3 separate regions of the Homo sapiens genome follow, and all the other regions are linked to region 1. Evidence: promoter capture Hi-C in 16 types of primary human blood cells and fetal thymus (Javierre and others, 2016). All regions are on one chromosome and are shown on one strand. The core of a region is centred on a gene start or on the middle of the fragment in contact, and the rest is flanking DNA. Distances in the headings are between cores, read along the strand shown.

What was found. Contacts are between HindIII fragments. The CHiCAGO score rates a contact against its expected background, and 5 or more counts as called.
Region 2: a contact is called between the fragment with the promoter of TNFSF13 here and the fragment with the promoter of DVL2 in region 1, in 6 of 17 cell types (naive B cells, fetal thymus, non-activated CD4 T cells and 3 more). The highest score is 6.4, in naive B cells.
Region 3: a fragment that was not itself captured here is called in contact with the fragment with the promoter of DVL2 in region 1 in 10 of 17 cell types (total B cells, naive B cells, non-activated CD4 T cells and 7 more); the score reaches 8.1 in total B cells.

What each region holds. Positions count from the first base shown.
Region 1 is chr17:7,232,661-7,236,157 of GRCh38, reverse strand. It overlaps DVL2 (dishevelled segment polarity protein 2), which reads left to right and starts at 1,641. Exons shown (of 15, transcript NM_004422.3): 1 at 1,641-2,089. The coding sequence starts at 1,896. It overlaps PHF23 (PHD finger protein 23), which reads left to right. Exons shown (of 5, transcript NM_024297.3): 4 at 1-228; 5 at 318-1,120. The coding sequence ends at 532. RefSeq lists an enhancer at 1,444-1,493 and a silencer at 1,604-1,903. The HindIII fragment of the contact is 14,867 bases long and covers 1-3,497 here.
Region 2 is chr17:7,557,500-7,560,914 of GRCh38, reverse strand. TNFSF13 (TNF superfamily member 13) reads right to left here and starts at 2,165. Exons shown (of 6, transcript NM_003808.4): 1 at 1,618-2,165; 2 at 1,213-1,291; 3 at 1,022-1,069; 4 at 748-866; 5 at 427-565; 6 at 1-191. The coding sequence starts at 1,875. The coding sequence ends at 82. TNFSF12-TNFSF13 (TNFSF12-TNFSF13 readthrough) reads right to left here. Exons shown (of 11, transcript NM_172089.4): 7 at 1,213-1,291; 8 at 1,022-1,069; 9 at 748-866; 10 at 427-565; 11 at 1-191. The coding sequence ends at 82. It overlaps TNFSF12 (TNF superfamily member 12), which reads right to left. Exons shown (of 7, transcript NM_003809.3): 7 at 3,034-3,415. RefSeq lists enhancers at 2,117-2,166, 2,977-3,036, 2,622-3,415. The HindIII fragment of the contact is 8,242 bases long and covers 1-3,415 here.
Region 3 is chr17:7,592,889-7,595,994 of GRCh38, reverse strand. FXR2 (FMR1 autosomal homolog 2) reads left to right here. Exons shown (of 17, transcript NM_004860.4): 8 at 1-171; 9 at 1,238-1,316; 10 at 1,648-1,757; 11 at 1,991-2,077; 12 at 2,370-2,592; 13 at 2,814-3,011; 14 at 3,101-3,106. Among named protein-coding and RNA genes, the nearest start is that of SOX15, 4.3 kb to the right of the region's middle. The HindIII fragment of the contact is 5,554 bases long and covers 1-3,106 here.

The DNA of each region.
Region 1 (3,497 bases), core at 392-2,891:
AAGAAGAAGAAGAGATGGCAACAGTGGTAGGGGGTGAAGCCCCAGTCCCTGTGCTGCCAACACCCCCTGAGGCTCCTAGGCCCCCTGCCACAGTGCACCCTGAAGGAGTCCCTCCTGCTGACAGTGAAAGCAAGGAGGTGGGCAGCACTGAAACAAGCCAAGATGGAGATGCCAGCTCCAGTGAAGGCGAGATGCGGGTCATGGACGAGGACATCATGGTAGAATCAGGTGAGAGGTTCGGGCTGGGGCGAGGGGTTTGAGGGTGTTGTGGATCCAACAGCTCAGGCAGAATACCAAACAAACCTTTTTTTCCCCAGGTGATGACTCATGGGATCTGATCACATGTTACTGTCGAAAGCCCTTTGCAGGGCGGCCCATGATTGAGTGCAGCCTGTGTGGGACGTGGATCCACCTCTCCTGTGCTAAGATTAAGAAGACCAACGTCCCCGACTTCTTTTATTGCCAGAAATGCAAGGAACTGAGGCCAGAGGCCCGGCGGTTAGGGGGGCCTCCCAAATCTGGAGAGCCCTGATGGCACCAACTTTAGCCTGGAACTTCCAAATGACAACATGATTTGGGAACTGAGCCTCAGGGTCCTCAGCCTATCCCCTGGAGCTTGGATACTGTCTGCACTTCAAGGCAGGAATTCTCAAGGGAGACTTGTTTGAAAATGAGTGTCTCACTTTCCCACCCTATCCTTCCTCCCCACTCTGTGGACTTGAAATTGAATCCATTACGGTTGGGGATGGGAGGCTGTCTGTGTCCCGACACATAATCTCTGTCTCTTGGACCTGCCACCATCACTTTCTGGGTCAGGATTGGAATTGGGATGGAATGGGACAGTTGTCTATAAAACTCTAGTGTAAATATTAGCACTCCCCTCCCTCATCTTTTCTTCTATTTCACTCCCCATTTATTTTCTTCTACACCGGTTGTATTTTTAATTTTGGACTTCCCCTATTGGGCATGGCAGCTCAAAGGTGGAGTACTAGAGCCTGGCCAAGTGAGGAAGGAAAGCAGAAAGGTGACGATTCTCACTCACCTCTTTTGTTTTTAATAATATCGGCCGCTGTTTGTACAGACAGCCTGCGTGTTGTAAATAAAGCAGAGTGGGCTCTTTTGTGTTTATAGCCCTCACTGTCCTGCTCGGGAGGGAGGCTTTGGTGGCTGAAGACTAGCTGGAGGTGGGGCTGAAACCCACGTCTCAAAGTCCAATCTGAAGATATCACAGCACTGGGCCTTTCCCACCCCAAGACAAGTAAGCCACCTTAGAGCTTTCATTGTATTTGGCCCTCCCCACTCGAGTCTAGGAACCCCCACAGTCCCCACCTTCACTCCCTGCACGCACACTCCTGCGGGTCAGAGTTGCTTCGTGCTCCATCGTGGGTGGGGTAAAGCGGGGTGGGAGCCGATGGTCCGTTTCCTGAAGGCACAGGCCAGCTTAGCCTGGGTGCTCAGAGGACCTCGGCTGGGGTACACGTTTGGGGGCTGGGAGACCGTTGCTGAAGGCAGCGATCATGTGGCGGGGGCACTAGGCGGAGTCAGACGGTCACGTGATTGGGAGGGGATCACGTGACGGAGGGCGGCTGAGGAGCGCGGGGTGGCTGCCTTTAAGTCACGTGACATGAGGAGAGGTGGGCGGGTACCTGGAGGAAGCTCGCGGCGTCGGTGGCGGTGGCGCGCGGCGGCCGCTGAGACCGGGGCTTTGAGTCGCACCCCGCGGCCCGCCCCCCGCCGCCACCCTCGCAGATCCGTGCTTTTTCCCCTTTGCTTCTCTCCCGTACTGGGTCAGTCCTGTCCGCGCTCGCGCGTCGGTTTGCGGGTGTGCGCAGGCGCGGCAGGGGCCATTAGCCCTTTGGGTGGGCGGTGGAGCCCGGGAGCGCGCGGGCGAGACCATGGCGGGTAGCAGCACTGGGGGCGGTGGGGTTGGGGAGACGAAGGTGATTTACCACCTGGATGAGGAAGAGACTCCCTACCTGGTGAAGATCCCTGTCCCCGCCGAGCGCATCACCCTCGGCGATTTCAAGAGCGTCCTGCAGCGGCCCGCGGGCGCCAAGTACTTTTTCAAGTCTATGGATCAGGATTTCGGGTGAGCGCAAGGCCTAGATAGGACCGGCGGGGGCTTTGCTAGAGTGGATTGGGCGACATGGAGGGGCACACGTCTACTTTGGGCCACACTGGGATTTTCTGGCCTATGGTGGAGCAGATTGTACTATGCTGAGGTAGGTTGACTATCCCAGGATGGACAAGGTTATGCTTGGATAGATTGAGGCACACGGACAGACTAGGATATCCTAAACCAGATTAGACAAGATTAGGCTTTACTGGAATAGGTGGGGGCATACTGGTTTATGTTGGAGTATTCTAGTCTGTACTGAGTAAATTGATCCATTGTCTGGTTGTTTAGTACGTTCTCAGGAGTCCTGTAACGCCTGTAATCCCAGCACTTTGGGAGGCTGAGGCGGGCGGATCACGAGGTCAGGAGATCGAGGCCATCCTGGCTAACACGGTGAAACCCCATCTCTACTAACTAAAAATACAAAAAATTAGCCGGGCGTGGGGGCACGCGCCTGTAGTCCCAGCTACTTGGGTGGCTGAAGCAGGGAGAATCTCTTGAACCTGGGAGGCGGAGGTTGCAGTGAGCCGAGATCGCGCCACTGCACTCCAGCCTGGGCGACAGTGCGAGACTCCGTCTCAGAAAAAAAACAAAAAACACTTGGGCCATTATGGACTCTACTGGGTTGTATTGGTTAATCCTGGTTTCTCTTGGGGCAAGACTTGGTTTTATTGGAGCACTCGGTATAGGGGCAGACAAGGCTGTTGGGGCCTGTGCTAGCACAGGCAGCCGTATTGGGATGTTCCAATCTAGACTGGTGCAGACAGCTGCGTGTGGGGGCATTGTAGGCTGTGCTAGAATAGATTGGGCTATCCTAGGGTAATTTGGGACATTCAGGGCTATCTTGGACTAGATTGGCGTGTAAATAATGCAGAGAAAGCCCTTTTGTGTTTATGGTCTTTGGGGCTGAGCCTTCTGGGTCCTCAACCTCTGCTTTTTTTTTTTTTTTTTTTTGAGACAGTCTCGCTCTGTCGCCCAGGCTGGAGTGCAGTGGCGCATTCTCAGCTCACTGCAAGCTCTGCCTCCCGGGTCCACGCCATTCTCCTGCCTCAGCCTCCCAAGTAGCTGGGACTACAGGCGTCCGCCACCACACCCGGCTAATTTTTTGTATTTTTTAGTAGAGACGGGGTTTCACCGTTTTAGCCAGACTGGTCTCTGACTTCTGACCTCGTGATTCGCCCGCCTCAGCCTCCCAAAGTGCTGGGATTACAGGCGTGAGCCACCGCGCCCGGCCCAACCTCTGCTTTTTTGAAGGCAGGCTGGATTAAGTTGGGATAGCATGGGTTTTAGAAGAACTGAACAAACTGGACTCTAGCTAGAAAGATTGTTTGACATGGGGATGCTGATACTATCTTGGGAGTTATCTTGGCTTTAAGGCAAG
Region 2 (3,415 bases), core at 916-3,415, 320 kb before region 1:
CTTTATATACTCAGCTCTTGGCTGTCTCCAGTATGTACCCACCCTGGTCTTCCAAGCTGGGAGCCACTTTTTATAACACAATCACAGTTTCACAAACCCCAGGAAGGTTCCATGTGGAGAGAGGTTAAGTTTCGCCCTTGCCCGGGGAATTATGACACTCAGAATATCCCCTTGGTGTAAATGGAAGACACCTGAGAAAAGAGAGAAAGTAGATTCGCAGTGAAGCACAGCCATCCAGATGCCCTGTTTCCCCCTGCCTTCTCCAGCTCCACCGTTCCTCTGCCTCCTGTAAGGACCCGGCATTCTGCACTTCACTCCTCAGACCCGCCTCTGTTTAGGTTTCCAACCTCCCTCCTAGCGGTAGCTCCCTGCACTGCTACCCCCGGTCAGAGACGTCCTGCTTTCGGCTGCCCACACGGCTCTCACCTGCGCTATAGCAGCTGTTGTAGGCCCGGTCCGGGTGGGAGGGCATACTTCTTATACATCGGAATAGAGTCTCCTGCCTTCCTTGGCCTTCTCGAGACACCACCTGACCCATGGTGAAAGTCACGTCTTGAAACAGGACCTGGCAGGGAAGGGAGATGTTGAAGAAAACAGGATGGCCTGGCTCAGTTCTGGGAGGCCTCAGGAGCGCTAACGAGGGAAGAAAGAAGGGTCTGCTGGGTTTGGTATGAATAGAGGGGTCAGGAACCCTCAGTAGGGGGCCAAAGAGGCCCTCTGTGAAGCTCAGAGTGTGGCTGGGGTTACCTGGCTATACAGCAGATAAACTCCAGCATCCTGGATTCGGACACCATATCCTTGGGCCTGTAGGCCTCTCCCACGCCTAAGAGCTGGTTGCCACATCACCTCTGTCACATCGGAGTCATCTGGAGGTGAGAGTGTGTCGGTCAGGACTTCTTGGCACTCTCAGGTGCTTTTTGGTTCTTTCCCTTTCACCTATAAGGACCCCTTGAGCCCAAGTGCCAGCCCGAGTTCCTGGTTATTGCCCCTCCCCAAAGCCATTATTTAAAATAGTGCTCACCCTTGGAGGTGGCGTTAATGGGAACCAGGTGCAGGACAGAGTGCTGCTCTGAGGAGAGAAGGAGGGAATCTCAGCCGCATCCACTTTCCCCCGTTGTGCTGTTGGCAGCCTCCACCCTCACCCTGACTCGGGCTTACAATCCCCACGCTGCTTGATCACCTCCCACCCCTGCTGCACCCTGGAAGCCTCACTCTTCTGTTTTTGGGTGAGCACTGCTCTCCTTTTCCGGGATCTCTCCCCATTCTCCCAGGCTTCCAGGGCATCGGAACTCTGCTCATGGAAAGAGGGTCAAGGTTAGGTTAAGATGCGAGGGTCCCAGCCAGCCTGCCTTCCCAGCCCTCCCCTGCCCCCGAGATGCCTCAGATCTCTCACGCACCTTTTCCCAGCACCCTGAGTGTTGGTGCTGGCTGCCCTCCAGGATTTGTTAGGTATGAGAAGCATTAACCTTTAACAGTTTCCTTTCCTGGAATGGCCGCGCCCCTGACTTCCAAACCGGAGACCCTCTCTTGCACCCCCTTGAAACTTTGCAGACCAGGAGGCCCAGAGACCCCCCATGCTAACCATCCTCTCCCAGACACCCTCCTCCCCTCACTCACCTGCTCCGGGAGACTCTGCCAGGGATACCCTTCCCCATTCTGGGAGGGGCCTCCTGTCCCCTGCAGCCGGCTCACCTCTCTCCTGAGGCTCTGCAGCTCTGTTTGTTGGGTCAGCAGAGCCATGGCACAAGCCACGGCCCCCAGAGCTGCCCCCCAACTCAACCAGAGGGCAACTGAGAGTGCCGGCTCTCTGACTGGGCCCCCCATGTTGCCTGGAGGCCCTTTGGGGGCTAGCAAGAAAGGAGATGAGGCTGGCATGAGCTGGGGACCCTGCCAACAGCTGTGGTTTCAAGAGTGGGGTAGCAAGGAGGTGGCGGGGCGGGTAAGGGTACGGGCAGTGGTGCAGAAGGGAAGAAGGTTGTTACGCAAGGAGAAATAAAAAGGAACTTGAAAATAAAAAGGAGGGAGGAGGAAAGCAAGCTAAGGGTACTGTTAGTGCTCCTGGCACTCCGTCGTGGGGCCAGCGTTGCCTTGAGACCCTCCACCCTCCCTCAGCCTCAGGAGAATTAGGTTCCAGTCCCTCTAGGAAGGACAGGGCTGCCAGTGACACCCAGGAGGAACAGGCAGTGCGCAGGAACCCTGGGGCGGCCCCAGGGTTGGGGGAGGGAAGGTTGGCTGGCTAGAGGGCATTGTGCCAGGAGCAGGATGGGGGGCCAAGCTGGGCAGTGTCCAGGGTCAGGGCGAGGGTGGAAGACCCTCGGGGTCAAGCACAGCAGAGATCGCTGGGGCAGTTCACTAGGGGTGACTGAAGGTGGGAAAGGAGGGGTGGGCTCGATGGGGAGGAGAACCAGGGGCACGGAAGCAAGAAACTGGCTGAGTTCTGGGGTTAAGGCTGGGCCGGGTGTGTTGGAATAAGGCCTGCACTACTCCCTGTGCTGAAATTGGCAAGCAGGACTTCCTGTTTCCCGAGAAAAGCTCTTACATAAGGCTCTGGACGAAGAGACAAAGCAGCGGCCTCAAGCCCCCCGGCCACTGCGGGATTCCTCCCCAGCACACAGGGTTCCGGGTTCCCGTGTGCCTGCTGACTCTCAGCCCCTCCTCCAGGCTGGCTCCTGCCCGCCCCACCTCCCAGCCAGGGCCTGTGCCAGCACCTGCTGAATGTCCGAGGCCACCAAGAGGAAGGGCCCCTGCTCCTCCCAGCCAGGAAGGGATTTCCCCGCAGGAGGAAGTCTGCCTCCTAGGCCAAGGAGGCCGCTTCTGCTGTACCTTGGGCGGAGGATTGATTTTTTTCCTGGGCAGTGTGCCTTCCTACCTCTGCTCCCACCTGGGGGCTGGAGGCATGGAGGTCCCCGCCCCCAAGCCTGAACATCATCCCGGAGTTCCAGCTGTGCCGCTCCGCAACGCCCCCCTTCACGTGGCCCCCAGCTACCCTGAGAGTGTCCCCTGAGCCCCAATAAAGAGAGAGACTATGACTTATTCTATTTAATATCCATTTATCAACATTTTGTCACAATAATAATAAAAATAATATCTGTTTTAAAAATCCACAGGGAATTCTCAAGGGAGGAGCTTGTCTTGTTTCTCGCCCCTCACATTTGGGAACTCCTGGCCTAGGCCCAGTCTCTTTGGCTTCCTGCCGCCAGGTCCAGCCCCTCTTAGTGCCTGAAGTGGGGTCTTCTGGACCCATCCTTGCCCACAGAGTACAGTGAACACAATGCCCTGGGGGTCTGTGGCCAGGGGGGAGTCGAGATCACTGGGGGCCTCAAAGGGTCAGGGATTGGGGAGCTAGTGAGGTGGAGAGTGGGCGGTGGGGGAGTTGTAAGATAAGAGTGGGAATACTGTATTTATGTGGGATGGA
Region 3 (3,106 bases), core at 63-2,562, 360 kb before region 1:
ACAAGCAAGCAGTTGGCAGCAGCCTTCCAAGAGGAGTTCACAGTGCGAGAGGACCTGATGGGACTGGCAATTGGGACTCACGGTGCCAACATCCAGCAGGCCCGAAAAGTACCTGGGGTGACCGCCATTGAGTTGGGTGAAGAGACCTGCACTTTCCGCATCTATGGGGAGGTCAGCAAAGGATGTCTTTCTTCTGGGTCTCTTAGGGGATAGAGGGAAGAGAGGCCGAAGTAGAAAATAAGCCTCAAACTGGGCACAGTGGCTCACACCTGTAATCCCAGCACCTTCGGAGGTCAAAGTGAGAGGATCACTTGAGCCTAGGAGTTTGAGACCAGCCTGTGCAACATAGTGAGACCCAATCTCTACAAAAATTTAAAAATTAGCTGGAAGTAGTGGTGCGTACCTGTAGTCGCAGGTACTTGGGAGGCTGAAATGGGAAGATAGAGGGGAGGATCACTTGAGCCTGGGAGTTGGAGAACAACCTGGACAACATAGAGAGACCCTGTCTTTACCCCCCAAAAAAACCAAAAACCAAAAAACGTTAACTGAGCGTGGTGGCATGCATCTGTGGCCCCAGCTACTTGGCTACTTGGGAGGCGGAGGCAGGAGGATCACTTGAGCCTGGAAAGTCAAGGCTGCAGTACACCATGATGGTGCCACTGAACCAACCTGGGCAACATAGTCAATAGAGTGAGACCAAAAAATCAAAAAAATAGACCAGATCTCTGTTGCCCAAGCTGGTTGTTAACTCCTAGCCTCAAGCAATCCTCCCTTCTTAGCCTCCGAAACTGTTGAGATTATGGGTGTGAGCCGCTGTGCCTGGCCAAGGTCCTCTGTTTTTTTTTTTAAGTTATTTATTTGTTTAATTTTTTTTTTTTATGAGATGGAGTCTAACTCACTCTGTTGCCCGGGCTAGAGTGCAGTGGCACAATCTCAGCTTATTGCAACCTCTGCCTCCTGGGTTCAAGAAATCTCCTGCCTCAGCCTCCGGAGTAGCTGGGATTAGAGACGTGAGCCACCAATTTTGTATTTTTAGTATTTTAGTATTTTTGTATTTTGATTTTTGTATTTTTAGTAGAGATGGCGTTTCACCATATTGCCCAGGCTAGTCTTGAACTCTTGAGCTCAATTTATCCACCTGCCTCCAGCCTCCCAAAGTGCTGGGATTACAGGCGTGAGCCACCACATCCAGCTGGTCTTCTGTTTTAGTAACAACTCCCTGCTGTTCTTCCTTTAGACTCCCGAGGCTTGCCGACAGGCCCGAAGCTACCTTGAGTTTTCTGAGGACTCAGTGCAAGTGCCCAGGAACCTGGTTGGTGAGTTGGTGGTGTGTATATACAGTTAGAGGTCAGAATCAAGATTCTCTACAGTGATTCTGAGCTTTTATCCAGGATTGGCACCTCCCTGTGGACTCCCAGTTTCACAAGGACAGAGAAACAGTCTGTAATGGGAGTGATAAAAATGAAAGAATAAATTTCTAGGGATTGTAACATTTTGTCCTGTAAAAACACATCAGAAACCTAGAAGCAGGAGAATGAAGTAAATGGAATCCATATAAAGAAAATGAGGCTGGAAGACGGTGTATCAGCTTTATTCTTATTTCCTTAAAAAAAATAAAAGGCTGAATTCCTCATTTACCTATTCCAGGCAAAGTGATTGGAAAGAACGGGAAAGTGATCCAGGAGATTGTGGATAAATCTGGTGTGGTGAGGGTTCGAGTGGAAGGTGATAATGACAAGAAGAACCCCAGGGAGGAGGTATGGGTACGGGGCAAGTGGGCATAGAGATTGGTTTCCAGAAGTAAATGGGATTGTCCTCTGAGGGCTGGGATTGTTCTTTGAGAGGGTGGAGTACGGAAAGTTGTTTAACACTAGTAGATTTAGAGCCCAGAATGATCCCACTGGGCAGGCTCCCCTAGGAGACTGGGCGGCGTTAATCCTTCCATTTCATTTTCCTTTCTGATCCATCGTTTCTGCTCTCTGTTCTCTAGGGAATGGTTCCCTTCATTTTTGTTGGCACCCGAGAGAACATCAGCAATGCCCAGGCTTTGCTGGAGTATCACCTCTCCTACCTGCAGGTACCCAGGCCGGGAGAGAAAAATGCTGGGTGTGAAAAGGGAACTAAGACTGCTGTGGGGGTCAGCTCAGGGATTTTGGTTCTCTGTTTGTCTCTCCGTGTAGAACAGAAAACATCTGTGGAAATTTGGGGCTATAGGGTTGGGTCCCAGAATTTTCCTTGTTTAGCCAGTGTCTTCCTTCTCCCTGCATTCCTGAGAGGTTAGATATAGAGGGACAGTCAGGGTGCAGAAGCATGAAGCAAGGCACTGATCTTATTTCTCCTTCCCCTTCTTCCATCTTTTACCCAACCAGGAGGTAGAGCAGCTTCGCTTGGAGAGGCTACAAATTGATGAGCAGCTTCGGCAGATTGGGCTGGGCTTTCGCCCTCCTGGGAGTGGGCGGGGCAGCGGTGGCAGCGACAAGGCTGGATATAGCACTGATGAGAGCTCCTCCTCCTCCCTCCATGCGACTCGAACCTATGGGGGCAGCTATGGGGGCCGTGGCCGTGGCCGGAGGACAGGCGGTCCTGCCTATGGTGAGACAGTTATGGGAACAGGAGGCAAGGAGTGGCAGGGCTTGTGGGTAGAGGCAGAGGTCTGGATGGAAGTTTGGGGAAATCTGGAATGGAGATGATGAAAAAGTGATTGATTGGCTGGGAGGCTTGTGAGTGAGAAGGAGAATTCTTCCAGTTTGGGGGATGTGATGGATCCTGAGGTGGGATGAATGGCCGTGAATAAATCCCATTGTGTTCTTCAGGCCCCAGCTCAGATGTGTCTACAGCTTCAGAGACTGAGTCAGAGAAGAGAGAGGAGCCCAACCGAGCTGGGCCTGGCGACAGGGATCCCCCAACCCGAGGGGAAGAAAGCCGGAGGCGGCCGACTGGGGGCCGGGGTAGGGGACCCCCACCTGCCCCCCGGCCCACTTCGAGATACAATTCTTCATCTATTAGCTCAGGTACCAGACAGCTGGGTTCATGAATATGGGCCAAAAGGAAAGATGATGGGCACCTGACTGCCAACTCCTCCTCTTCTTCCTCTGACCAGTGCTGA